Linked DNA regions of Homo sapiens: region 2 is linked to region 1. Evidence: promoter capture Hi-C in human tissues and cell types (Jung and others, 2019). All regions are on one chromosome and are shown on one strand. Each heading gives the region's core, a stretch centred on a gene start or on the middle of the fragment in contact. The rest is flanking DNA. Distances are from core to core; before and after follow the strand shown. Region 1 holds the start of PCK1 (phosphoenolpyruvate carboxykinase 1). Region 2 has its middle 59 kb from the start of LINC01742.

Evidence for each region. The method cuts DNA at HindIII sites, captures the fragments that hold promoters and counts their contacts. A contact is called where the count stands out against the background at its distance.
Region 2: a contact is called between a fragment that was not itself captured here and the fragment with the promoter of PCK1 in region 1, in 4 of the 25 tissues and cell types used here (adrenal gland, bladder, heart right ventricle and 1 more).

The regions. Positions count from the first base shown.
Region 1 is chr20:57,556,198-57,563,033 of GRCh38, reverse strand. It overlaps PCK1 (phosphoenolpyruvate carboxykinase 1), which reads right to left and starts at 1,924. Exons shown (of 10, transcript NM_002591.4): 1 at 1,831-1,924; 2 at 1,399-1,662; 3 at 782-963; 4 at 135-338; 5 at 1-6. The coding sequence starts at 1,622. The HindIII fragment of the contact is 15,943 bases long and covers 1-6,836 here.
Region 2 is chr20:57,941,481-57,948,172 of GRCh38, reverse strand. No RefSeq gene overlaps it. Among named protein-coding and RNA genes, the nearest start is that of LINC01742, 59 kb to the left of the region's middle. The HindIII fragment of the contact is 4,050 bases long and covers 2,480-6,529 here.

The DNA.
Region 1 (6,836 bases), core at 675-3,174:
AAGGCTCTGTGAACAAGGACCCCTCCCAAGTCAGTGCGCCAGGGCCCTGCTTGGGGGTCCCCGAGGCACTCACTGGGGTTTGCGTTCAGCTTTCTTTTTTATTTTGACTTTTGATTCTGAAATAATACACTTACTTTGTAAAGGCAGAGGGCACCCCACAGAATGGAGGCATTTGACAAACTCCCCATCGCCCACTGCTTCCAGGACGGGCGTGCCCATCCGCGTCATGATCCGCATGCTGGCCACCACGTAGGGTGAATCCGTCAGCTCGATGCCGATCTTTGACAGAGGCGAGCCCAGCGGCCCCATGCTGAATGGGATGACGTACATGGTGCGACCTACAGGGTGCGATGGGTGGGCACTGGTGAGAAATGACCTTGGACTTCGAACACGACCAGCATTTTTTTCCCAGGTAGACCCATTTTCACGGTGTTCCACTAACACCACCACACCCTGCTGGTCACCAGCCCCCTGGGTTAGAAGAGGCCACTGGAAAGTGAACAGCCTGCTGAAATTAAAGAGTTTTCATAAATGTGCAATTGGGTCCCACCAAGCTATTTAAAACCCATATGCATGGAACTAGTTTTCACGTTTGTATAAGACAGTCTGTAAAAGCAGAAGAGGGATGTGCATTTTCAATACATTGCCAACTTCATGTATGGAACTGAAAGACATCTGAGGTGGTGGGAGCTTCCATTATTGTTTGAATTACCATTAGGATAGATGTAAATAAGAAAAGGCTCTCTGCTGTTTTACCCAATCAAATCAATGTTCCGCTCACCTTTCATGCACCCTGGGAACCTGGCATTGAACGCTTTCTCAAAATCCTCCTCTGACATCCAGCGACCGAGCTGGCTGAGGCCTGTTTTGGGGATGGGCACTGTGTCTCTTTGCTCTTGGGTGACGATAACCGTCTTGCTTTCGATCCTGGCCACATCCCTGGGGTCAGTGAGAGCCAACCAGCTGCAAAAATCACAGGCTTCCTTTCAGCCAAGCACCACGGGCAGCGAACCATCTCCTTCAGTACCGTGGCTTTCCATGCCTAGCAGAGTGCTGAGCACGCTAACAACAGTCCATCAGTGTGAACACACAGACCATCTAAGACATGGCCAGGTGGACATTTACTCCACTAGGACCTGGTCTGTAGGAGAGGGGCTGCCTTTTTTTTAATCAGGAATCTAGTTGGCAGAGCTTTTGTGCACACACCTCATTTAAAGCTTGGGCTGGCCCACTAATGTCACAAAATTCAAGTCTGTATGGTTCTGACCATTGCATTCATCTTCTCAAGAGTCTGAAACTACCCGAAGGCCTTCATTCACCTTTCTCCACCAACTCCCAGGAGACGCAGGGGAGCCCTGCCTGCAGGGTGCTGGGACAGGCAGCGGGGGCCGAGCTTACCAGTTGTCATACTTCTTCAGCCGCCTGAGGATGCCCTCTTCCTCCATCTGGCCCAGAAGCCGCCCATTCTCCTCCTCAGAGCCGTCACAGATGTGGATGTGATCAGGCTGACACAGCTCAGCGTTATTCTCGAGAAACTCCCTCACTGCCTGGGGTAGGCTGTCCAGGCTTCCCTGGACAACTTTGGCCGAGAGGTTCAGGCCGTTTTGCAGCTGAGGAGGCATTTCTGCAGAGTGCTGCTAAGGGGCACGAATGTGAGGTCACCTGAAATAGAAAACGCAAGCGTCCTGAACAAAAACAACAACAGACACCTTCAAACACATTCGACGGCCTTTTGCCAGGGCTGTGCATTGCCAAATAGTTATTGCTCTCAGGAAAAAAATGAGTTCATCTTTGTAATTTTTCAAAATGTAAATGCAAAGCTCTACTTACCTTTCTTCTCTTTGGATGATCTCGAAGGGAGATCCACAGGTTTCTTTCCGGGCTCTTCCCGCCAGCAAGTTTGTGTTCCCAGTGGGAAGGCCGTGCTTGGTGGCAGAACCTCCCAGCTTTAAATACTGTGGAAAAGAATAGCCCTGCCCCTCAGCTGCACCCAGGGAGGCTCGCCACTGACGTCAGGGGGCAGGTCTCTGGATCACGGCCAGGGTCAGTTATGCTTTGGGCCAACTCACTGCAACACGCCCCAGGGAGATAATCATTGAACAGATAGTTGTTAATGAATGCTGGGAGACTTCGAGCCCTCAACCAACCATAGTGAGTTTTGACACAACTTCCAACTGACTAAACCTTGACCCATTTTACTGCTGTTGCAAAACACAACACCCTTTTCTTAACAGGCAGGTGGGTCAAGGACAAGGTTGGCCGGGGCACCTGCTAGCAGCACATTTTGTGTACCAAGAGCTGCTGGTTGGCAAAACACCACAGCTATAAGATGTCACCCCATAGTCAAAGGTCACAGTCAAAGTTCATGGGAAGGATGCACCCTAACTTGGGCAAATATGTGGCTTATTGGCAAAGATTGGAAATGCCTAACCTAACTGGGGGCTAATCACTGTATTGATTGTCTGCTCTGTGCCGCCCCCGCCCCCTGCCCCGATGTAAACTCCATGAGGGCAGGGATTTCTCCCTATTTTGTTCATTTTTCTCTCTGTAGTGCTTGGCATAGAGTAGGCACAGGATGCACACATGCTGAGCACTGTTCTAAGAGCTTGGCATCATTACTACCCTCTGAGGTGGAGGCTATGAACAACCCATGTACAGATAGGGAAACTGAGGCAGAGATTGTGTAGCCACTCACAGCCGGCTGGTGGGTTGCAGAGTGAGGATCTGAACATGAGCAAGTTGGGCCCTGGAGCACCACGTCTCTCCCTGTGAGGTACCGCCACCTTTCCAGAACCTTCCCTGTGTCCTCCAGGGAGTTCTGGGCTGAGTGCAGTTACTCCTGCAGTCCACTGGCCACTGTTCTCTTCCCTGGCAAGTCTTAGAGTTTAGGGAGTGGAGGGGGCTTGGCAGTTTTGCTAGATTATATGCTTAAGCAATGAAACCTTTATAACAGTTGTAAAGAATTTGCTTTGCAAGCCATCAGACCTTCAGTCAAATTTAATGAGCTATGGAAGCTGCTTGCTGGAGTTTGGAGAACACAGGGTGAAATGTCAAAAGAACGGGGCTAGGTCTCAACCCCCCACAGCCAGCCCACACTTCCATGGAAGCCTCTCTACCTAAGATGAGGTCAGGTGGGGACTTGGCCCATCTCCCCGCTGGGGTGTGGGATGATCCCTGAGATAATCCCAGGACTGGGCTTAGAAAGAGCTGCTGTGGCAAATACAAGTCACTGTGAATGGCAGCCTCCGACCAAACTCACTTAGAGAACCCTCCTGGGGGCTTGGGTCACACTGTGTTGGGCGTGGGTCACACATCATCAAGTTCCACCAAAATTATCAACCCATTGCTATGTTTCCTGTATTCAGATTTTATTCAGCCAGTTGTGTCTTTCAGGATAAATATGATATGAGGTGCTTTTTGTTTCATTTGAAGTTATTCCCCGTTTAGGTCACTGGCATTTGTTATTAGTGGTGCTGTCATCCATACATAAGATCGTGTTGTGTCTAAACCCAACAGTGACGTGATGCTCAGTAGCCGAGGCCACTTCGTTAGCATCTGACATCAGTGAATTAGCCATCCCGATGCATGACCACAATTCCGTGACACACACATCACTCCCGGCGAGACTCATCCCACCAAATTGGTAGAAAGTCCCATTTTGCTGATAAAACGGTAACAGGTTTGAGTACCTGAAAGAGCACATAGATTGAAAACAAAAAGGGAAAGCAGAACTCATTTGGAGTCCTAAATGCGACCCATCCATTCCAGGTGCTTATGTTCTGAGTCTTCTGGGAGAGAAACAGCTAGTTCAAGTAAAACGTCAGAGCAGTGAGTCACCAACGACCTTCATCCGATCCTTTCATTACCTGCATTTACAGCGTGGAAGGACGGTAATGATTCCCCCGCAACTGTCCCTTGTCAAAATGTTAAAAAGCAAACATTGGTTTACAGACTTGCCTCAAAGGACAGAGTTCTCTGGAAGAAGAATCATGATAAAGTAGAGGGGTTTTGAGGACACACAGGCAAAAGTATGGGTACAGTTGCCTTAGGTCTTGGCAGATGATGCCCTCGGGCCCCCATTTTTCCTGTCCTTAGAGACTCCCTGCCCCAGTGGGGACTCATTGACAACAATTTCAAGGGGCTGGCCGGAAGCATGGGTCTTCCTCATCTGACTGTCAGCTTATTTGTAAGTAAGCCTCAAAACTAACTACTGTCTGTTGGTTTCAACAGGGACCCGAAGAAGCAGCCAAACAGCCACCCTGCTGGTGGGATCCCTGAGGACCCCCAGTTAACCCGCCGAGTGGACTTTGCAGTGTGTGCTCAGTGGGTGGGGCATGGAGGTGGCTCACGCTGCCTGTGAGTTGCGTTAGTTGTTTCTGGGACGGATGCCATAGAGACCTCCTAGCTTTTGGGGAGCTCCTTAGGCTCAGATTTTCTTAGGTCCAAGGCTGCTCTTCTTTTGAAAAATGTATAAAAAGTTGAGCCCAGATACAAAATTGGGGAAAGAAGGAGAAAGAAAGATCGGACACTAAAATAGTTTCAAACTAAAAGGGACTTCCTCCCTGCACCTTCCTGGGGCCACTCCATGTTTTGCAGTTACTCAGGGATATCGATTGCTTTTTCCCTGCTTTGTGACCACACCAGCTATATCCTGATACGAGATAATTAGACGGATTTAAAAAGGTAAAGAGAAGTTTTGCATCCAATTTGCTGCAATCTCATATTCTCTAGGAAGCCTCAGCTCAAACGTTTATTAAATGCTTGCTATGTCTCTAGCACCGGGCATAATAATCTTCATAATACTGGGCTTTCTCTGCATGCCAGAAATGGGATGCATTCCATGATTTTCTCCGATGTAGGTACCTTTGTTATCTTTCCCATTTTATAGATGAGGAAACTGAGGGTCTCAACCCAGCTGGGTATAGACGAGGGTCGAGAAAGGAATCATATTCATTCCTTCAACAGTGAATGAGCAGCTACTATTGCCAGTTCTCTAGATGTGTCCTCAAACTGAGAGTCCTTTTCCTGTCTATACTCCCAGCACATAGTCATCAAGCACTTGCTGAGCACCTACTTCATACTGATCCTAGGGTCCACTTCATAGTCTCAAGAGCATGCCTCACTCTTGGAAGGGGGCTCTTCTCTTGGAGTTTCATGCTCTGGGGTCACTGTCTTGAAATTCATAGTGATCTTCTAAGTTTGTGTCACTTCTACATTTGAAGGGATGATGGGGCACGCGGCGTGGCTCTTGTACAGTTCTGCCTCCCTCAGCCTTTCTGCTTCTAAGGATGGAGCCTCAGCTGCCCGCTCCCCTGTCTCTTCCTGCTAGGTGACCACTGCTGCCCTCCACCCCGACTAGGGTCTGAGCACAAGGGCAGGGAAGTCAGGTCAGAGTTGTGCGCCCATGAGGGTCTGCACTCATTCCCATGAGCATCCCCTGCCCAAGGGAGCGCAACATCAAACAGCAAATGCAAAACATGCCACAACAGATAGAGAGACCATGGGAGAAAGGAACACAGGTTTTTTTTTTTTTTGTCCTTTTTGAACAAGGGGCCCTGTGTATTTTGCACGTGGTCCCACAAGTTATGGAGCTATCTTGCCTAAGAAACAATTTCCTCAAAGACTTAAGATGGAGTTGGGGAGACCCCCACCCTGATGTTAGAGTATTTGGTTTATCATCAGACCTACATGATGGTCCAATTAAAGAAGTTGTACATGGCCAAGTGCCACATAGACAGTTCCAGTGGGAGAGCCAGGGCCACTGTCTGCTATCTAAAATGTAATCAAGACATTGGTACAGTGCTTTGCAGTTAGTGAGAACGTTCCTCGAACTGCTCATACAAGGCCCCTGCAGGAGGGGGCCAGACAGTCATGGCAGACCCAAGGAAGCAAGGGGAGTTCCAAACACAAGTCCTCTGGGTCCCCCAGGCCAGGGTGCGCCTGTCCACCACACTTAGTCTACTGAGCATGTGTTGGGGAAGAAGTGGTCAGTGACAGGGCCACCTCTCAGGTGTCATTTTGCACCTGTGATGGACTGTAGCCCAATTTCTCCCAGCAGCCTACCATGAAGGGTTCTGGAAGAGTGGGTGAACTGGACTTTGACGAGCCTGTAGAATGCCATGCAGGATGGAGCAGTGACAAAGACAGCAGAAAACACGCGCAGGGACAGCCAAGATGCAGCAGGTGTGACCGGGGAGGTGGGTGTGGGGAATGGCTGCATTCCAGATGAACAACAGAAAACAAAGCCATGACTTTGGCGGGGTCTCACAGTGGAGGATTCAGAGGACAGTCTGATTGCAACACATGTTGGTGTTTCTTGGTTACCTGGAGGCCAATAAAAGAACAGAAATTCTGGGCCGGGTGCGGAGGCTCACGTCTGTAATCCCAGGACTATGGGAGGCTGAGGCAGGCGGATCACCTGAGGTCAGGAATTTGAGACCAGCCTGACCAACACGGAGAAACCCCATCTCTACTAAAAATACAAACAATTAGCCTGGCATGGTGGCGCATGCCTGTAATCCCAGCTATTCAGGAGGCTGAGGCAGGAGAATCACTGGAACCCGGGAGGCAGAGGTTGTGGTGAGCCGAGATCTCACCACTGCATTCCAGCCTGGGTGACAGAGTGAGACTCCATCTCAAAAAAAAAAAACAAACACACACTCTCAACAGCAGTGCTTGGAGGTCATGTAAAGTCAAGGTCCGTGTTTTCCCAACTGGGCTCTAAGGGATTTAGGGGGATTCCACTCACCCCTCACAGAGGAGAGAGAAAGGCTGTAGGAGACGGGCTCTAAGCCCTCCTCACCCATGGCATCTCTGATTTGACCTGTTGTACATTT
Region 2 (6,692 bases), core at 3,255-5,754, 380 kb before region 1:
ACAAACAGATGAATCTTTTACAACCCCCATTTCCTCTGCTCCAGGCGGCCGGCACGATGAAATGGCATCTCCCCACAGTGAAAGCCAAGCCAAACAGATTAATTTTAGATGCATCTGCTGTAGATTAAACATTTGGAAAAGCCATTTTATAAATATTTTTTTTCCACAACCACATCCCCATATGGCCGCGAGCTCCGGCCTCATTCCGAATGCTGCTGGGGGCCTTACCCATATGTATTTAATGTTCACTCCAGGCTCAAGACTTCTGTTCCCGGCCTCCAGGGAGCATTCCAGAGCATGTTTTAATCTACTTTTAGGGAACGCATCAGACTCCTCTGAGCAAACAAAGCATGGGGAGCCTTCCTGGAGGTGGGATGGGGTTTGGGGAGGGCGAGTGTAGGGTAACCCCTTCTTGATCCTCTCTCCAGATGGCTGACCCTCAGCCCTCTGTCTCTGCTCTGCACCGATCTAGGCCCTAGAAGTTCCAGGAAACAGGATCCTTGTCTTTCTAGAGCTCCCTGTCCAGCAGAAAAAAATCCCCCTTCGGGTCAGCCTTGGCTCACTTGAGCCACCAGACTCCATGGAGAGTCGCCAAGCTCTGTGGGTTCTGCCTCATTGCCTCATTGGTGCCTTCTGGGTCTGTCTCCACTGCCCGTTTCCATCGCCCCCAGCCCATGGCTCATGCCTGGACTATCATTGACCTCCTAGCTAAGGCTCACTTGTCCACTCACTCACCCCGATCCAGCTACCCCCAGCAGCCTAAAGGCTCACATCTCCTGGCCTAAAACCTAACACCAATGGAGAATAGTCACCCGCTTCCACCCCACCCCTGCCATGAAGGCCACACCCCTCAAGATGGTTGTCCAGGCGCCACAAGGCCCCATGCTTGCTGCTTCTCCTTTGATTTGATTTTCTTTGTTTTGGGGAATTACAGATTCAGAGGAAATCTCAAAAATAGTGCAGACAGGTCTGATGTGCCCTTTAAGTCCACAGCAGAAAGTGGAGTTCACTAGCAGGTGTCACCGTGAAGGGCCTGGCAGGGGGAGGGCCTGTGAATCCACGGTGATTGCACGACAGCCAGTGATTACTCTGGGGCCACAGGATCCTGGCTTCTTCTGAACATAAGAGGCAGCACGGGTCCAAATTTAACTTGACTTTTGCCTACCGTATGGACCAGATGCTCCCCATTCCTGCCCCGGCCCTTGCACTCAGTGTCTGTTCTTGCCTCATACAAAATCAGTGGACTTTTCCTTATTCAATTCCATGTTCCAATTCCTCATTCATGAGGCTGGGATGTGGGGTCTCCTGTTTTGGAATTCCAGCTCTGCACTAAGTAGGTAAATATGGGTAAGGAGTGAAGGACTGTGAGGTGGGGACAGCTGGTGCAAAGGCTCTGAGGTAACAACAAGCTTCATGTGTCCAAGTGACAGGTCAAAGTCCAATGTAGGAGTAGGCGGGAAAACAGAGGAAGATGAGCTGCTTGGTCCATTAAAACAAGGGCTCCCAGCCCTAGAAACAATACCAGGGTAAGTCTTTGCTGCACTGGCTCTGTCTTGACTTGTGCTACCCACTGAGTGTGGTGTCCCAGGCAAGTTTCCTAGGCCCTAAAATCTGTTTGGGATGATGAATGTTACCAAAATGTCTATATTCATGTCCTGTTCTGCTGCCCCCAAAAGCATCAGGGTCTCGTATGGGCTTTGCCCAGGTAGGGCTTGATGGTTGTAAGCAACAGAAACTGATACCGGCCACTGGCAGCAAAGAGCACATTTGCTGGGAGGGCACAGGGAGGACCCAGGATAAGCAAGGGAGGCTGGAGAACCTGGCTTGGAATAAACAGCTCTGGGGCAGAACAAGGGAATCATGGTAGCTGGGAGTAATGACAGACTCGCTGGTCTTCTTGCAGGAATAAAGGAACTGTTTCTCCCAGCATCTAATAATTTCATCATTCAATTGAAGAGTCAAAGTTCTAGAAGAAAGAGCACTGTGCCCACCTGGACTAAGTATTCTCCAGCCTCCCCGCCCAACCCTCACCCATTCTCTGTCTGTCTCCATCCTATCCTGAGCCCTGGGAAGATGGCCTTTAAAAACTGCATCCATGGTGTCCCTTGTCCTCTGACTTCTGATTAGGTTTGTCCAAAATGAGCACTTGCAGAATGGAGGATGAGAGGAGAGACAGGAGGTTGTGTGTCCTTCTCCCCAGGTTGTCACGCGGCCTGGCCTCCAAGGGCCACAGCTCCTATGGTGGACAGGGACAAGGGGACCCAATCCTGGGTCCAGCTCCTGCTAGGTTTCAGTGAGGCAGTTTCTGGCCCTTGCCAGCTATTGCTGGTCTTAGCTGCATTCCCCACTCGATGGTCCTCTCTCTGCTTGTATCTCTGTGCATGTTGTGTCAAGCACTTCAGTTTTCTCTTGAGGGAAATCTCAGCTGTTTCTTCCCAGAGACATGGCTGGGACACCTCTTGACTGGTCAGGGTGATGAGTGGACCCAGTCCAAGGAGTCTGGGTAGAAACACATCAGTTACCCTGCAGGAGGGACAAGGGAGCTGGGATACTGACATGCTAACTCCTGGCATTCATTGGTTGGGCACTGCTTTTCCTGGGCACCTTCAGCTTGCCTCATGTGTGGGTACAAGAGGCTTGAGCAGCCACTGATGGCTCTCAGGCAAAGACACTCAGGGGCCGCCACTGGCACTAAAATGGTAATGGCCGAGCGGTTAATGGAGCACTGAGGAGCTGAATTTTTAATTGTATTTAATGGTAATTAATTTAAATGTAAAATGCCACATGTGGCTAGTGATGCCTGTATTGGAGAGTGCAGGTCTCAAAGGGACTATAGGTACAAAATAAATAATCACACAAGTGATTATGTAATGACAGTCTTGCACCTCATAACAGCGTTTTGGTTAATGATGGACCGCATACACAATGGTGGTCACATAACATGATAATGGAGTTGCCAGATTCCTGTAACCTGGTGACATCACAGCCATCATAACTTCGGAGCAGGACGCATTCCTTGTGTGTTTGTTGTGACACTGGTGCAAACAAACCTACCGTGCTGGTAGTCATATAAAAGTCTAGCACGTAAAATTATGTGTGGTACATAATACTTGATAATAAATTACTCTGTTACTGGTTTATGTAATTACTATATTATACCTCTTATTATTTAAGCATGTACTCCATATATATATATATACACACATATAAATATATGTATATATAAAGTTTATGTATATATAAAGTTACCTGTAAAGCAGCCTTAGGCAGGTCTTTCAGGAGGAATCTGGAAGAAGGCATTGCTATCATAGAAGATGGCAGCTCCATGCGTGTTATTGCCCCGAAGACCTTCCAGTGGGACAAGATGTGGAGGTGGAAAACAGTGATTCTGAGGATCCTGTCCCTGTCTAGGCCTAGGCTCAAGTGTGTGCTTGTGTCTTAGTTTTTAACAAAAAAGTTTAAAGAGTAAAAGTAAAACTTAAAAAAATATTTAAAGTAGAAAAAAGTTTATAGAATAAAGATATAAAGAAAGAAAACACAACTGCAAGCTTGTTGAAAGAAAGAAAGAAAATATTTTTGTACATCTGTACAATGTGTTTGTTTTAAGCTAAGTGTTACTAGAAAAGCATCAAAAAGTTAAAAAATTAAAAAAGTAAAAATTGACACTAAGCTAAATTGATTTATTATTGAAGAAAGAAAAATATGTTTTTACACATGTTGCGTTGCCAAAGTGTACAGTGTTTATAAAGTGTGAAGCAGGGAGCGGTAATGTCCCAGGTCACCACATCTCTCCACACTCACTCACTGGTTCGCCCACACCAACGTCCAGTCCTGGGAGCTCCATTCATGCAGGTATCCTATACAGGTGTAGCAGTTTTAAATTTTTTATACCATATTTTACTGTACCTCGTCTGTGTTGAGATAGGTTTAGATACACAAACACTCACCATGTGTTGCGACTGCCTGCAGTATTCAGTACAGCCATGGCCGCACAGGCTACACACATAGCCCGGTGTGTAGGAGGCTACACCATCTGGGTTTGTGCAGCAGGCTGTATGATGTTTGCACAATGATGAGGTCACCTAACAACTCATTTTGCAGAACACATCCCTGTCGTTAAGTGACATATGATGGCATCGCTAAGATCACCATTTTGCGCTCTCACTGTGGCCTCTATAATTTCTGTCTGAACAGGGTTACCAAGGAATGCCTCATTCAGCTGAGATCTGAAAGGTGGCTCTGAGGACGGAAAGGAGAGAGGTGGGGGAGGACCTTCCAGGCAGCGGAACAGGGTGTGCAAAGTCACGAGGCACACGGAGGAAATGGAGGGAAGACTAATTAGACGCAGAGTAATGAGTGCAGAGAGGGAGGACCAGAGACGGACAGGTAGGTCAGACCTAGGGGCCTTTACACCATTAGTCCCATTTTACAGGCAGGGAAAAGGAAGCTTCAAGAGGGAACATACACATCCGGAACCACCCGCTAGCATGGGGTGGGGCAAGAATTTGCACCTAGCTTCATGTGGGGCCAAAGCCCGCTCTTAATCACAGCTATGCCAGCCCCTGGAAGGCGATGGCTTCCATGCATAGCAGGAACTACCAAGATGGGAGAAGCATCTGCCACCCTGCAGGACGGACTGAGTCGGGCTTGGAAACAGACATCGGGGACCTGTCCAGGCCTGGCCTCCCTCAGGAGGCAGCCGCTTCCCTGGGATGGAGGCTGGAAAGCGAGCCCCAGGCTGCCTAGCTGGAGGCTGACAGGAAGTGAGGCGTGGCAGCTGGTGAACAGGAAGAGGAAGGGGCAAGTGTGCAGAGGGCAGAGGTGATATCTGGGAACTGTGAGAGGGAGTCGTCCTTCCTCTGGACCACTCTTGATGGGGCAAAGGGAAGAGGTGATGTTCAGGCTTTAGAGTCTCAAGACCAGGTTCAAATCCACTCCCTAGCCCTAGAGTCAGCCTCTTCTCAGTTCCGAGCATCAGTCCTCTCAGCTGTAAAATGGGCCGAGGGCCATTGTAAGGATTACCTAGCACAGCAGTTCTTCAAATGTGTGGCCCCGGGACCCCTGGGTATTCCTAAGGCCACGATTTGCCTTTTAGTCCTCATTCTCTTGTGAGAGTACGGTGGAGTTTTCCAGCAGCTCCATGAAATGCGAGGACATCATTGCTTTGCTGGCTGATGAAATCAATCTGTGCTGTGATTCCCGTGTTTAAAAAATTATTCCTTTTTATTTCTAACACAGAAATATTGATAGATACAACCTACATAGACAAAAGCCCTTTGGGGTTCTCGTTAATTTTGAGGAGTCCTGAGACCAACAAATTTGGGACCCTCTGGTGTAACACTTACCACAGGGATCTGGTTAGCACCCAATGCCAATAAAACTGGAAGCTGTGCCCGTTTCACAGATGTGGAATACAGTATGCTGGTCATGGCTCCTGGGTTGCAAGCAACAGAGAGCACCTTTGACTTGCTTACGCAAATGAGGATTTCCTAGAACTCTCTTAGTAAAGAAGCTGGAAAACCAGACTGGAGCAGAGGGAAGCACGAGGCAGTGTCCAAGGCCCGAGGTGCTGACACCATGGCAAGGTCTGCTTGAATGAAGCCACGTTTGGGGTCTCGCTGTCTGATGGAGCTGTTAAGGAGAGACCCCACGCTGTCCTGGGCCAGGCCAGTGAGATTCCTCCCCCCGGAACTTGGTTCTTAAGCAGAGAGACAACAACACTCCTGTCTAGAACACAAGGAAGCCCCTTCCCCAGGATGCAGGAATCCCATTTTGTCAATGGCCTTTCAAGAAAATGGGAGGTTTCCCACAGCCCCCTAACCTCCATGGCTCATGGGGCAAATGCTTAAACCAATCCCTCCCCCAGAAGGTGCCTGGGTGTTTAACAGAAGACTGATCCTGTCTGCATTTTAAAATTCACGATGTATCTCCCTGTCCCTACCGTCCGGGAGCCTTCTCTGTAAACAAGCCTCAGCTCCCACTCCCCTCAGCACCCCCGAATCATGCCAGTTTTTGCGGAAGGCCGTGGGCACACTGCCTCCCCTGCAGTGGGAAATATTTCACTGGGTTTATTGGAGAAATTGCCTGTCAGATATGATTATTTGTTTGGAGTTGTGTATATCAAATTCTGCTGGAGCCAGCGTGCTGTCACGCAGAGTTTATAGGTATATGGCAGGCGCAGTCCCATTAAACACTCCTTAAAAATATGCTTGGTTAAAAACAACAACAGCAACCACCACCGCCTTGTTTATAGTTAATGTAAAGAATCACAAAATCTTTCTTCCCTGGGGACTGCCTGTGTTTGGCTGTGTTTACTGTCTGTGCAGTGGAGCCGATGACTCTGACCTCACCCCACATGGCCGCCCCCGCCAGGACACCTCTCCAGGAGGGAGGCCAGACGACAGACAGCCGTGCTCTGTAATTCATTCCCGCTTTGCTGTGATTGCTTAATCACAGCAGGTGAGATGGATCCAGACTGACTAACCCTGAAAAAGGAATCCATCTGGCTCAGCTCAAATGATGTTTTGGGCAGGGATTTGATGGGCAGCATTAAAAGGTTGAAGAAATCCATCTATCCACGAGCCCTTGTGAGTCCAGTTCTGTCTATTGATGACGATTTACAAGGGAAGGGTATTTCACTGGGGTTTTGCTAGCTAGGAGACCCTTGGGTCAGGGCTGAGTCCTCCTGGCAC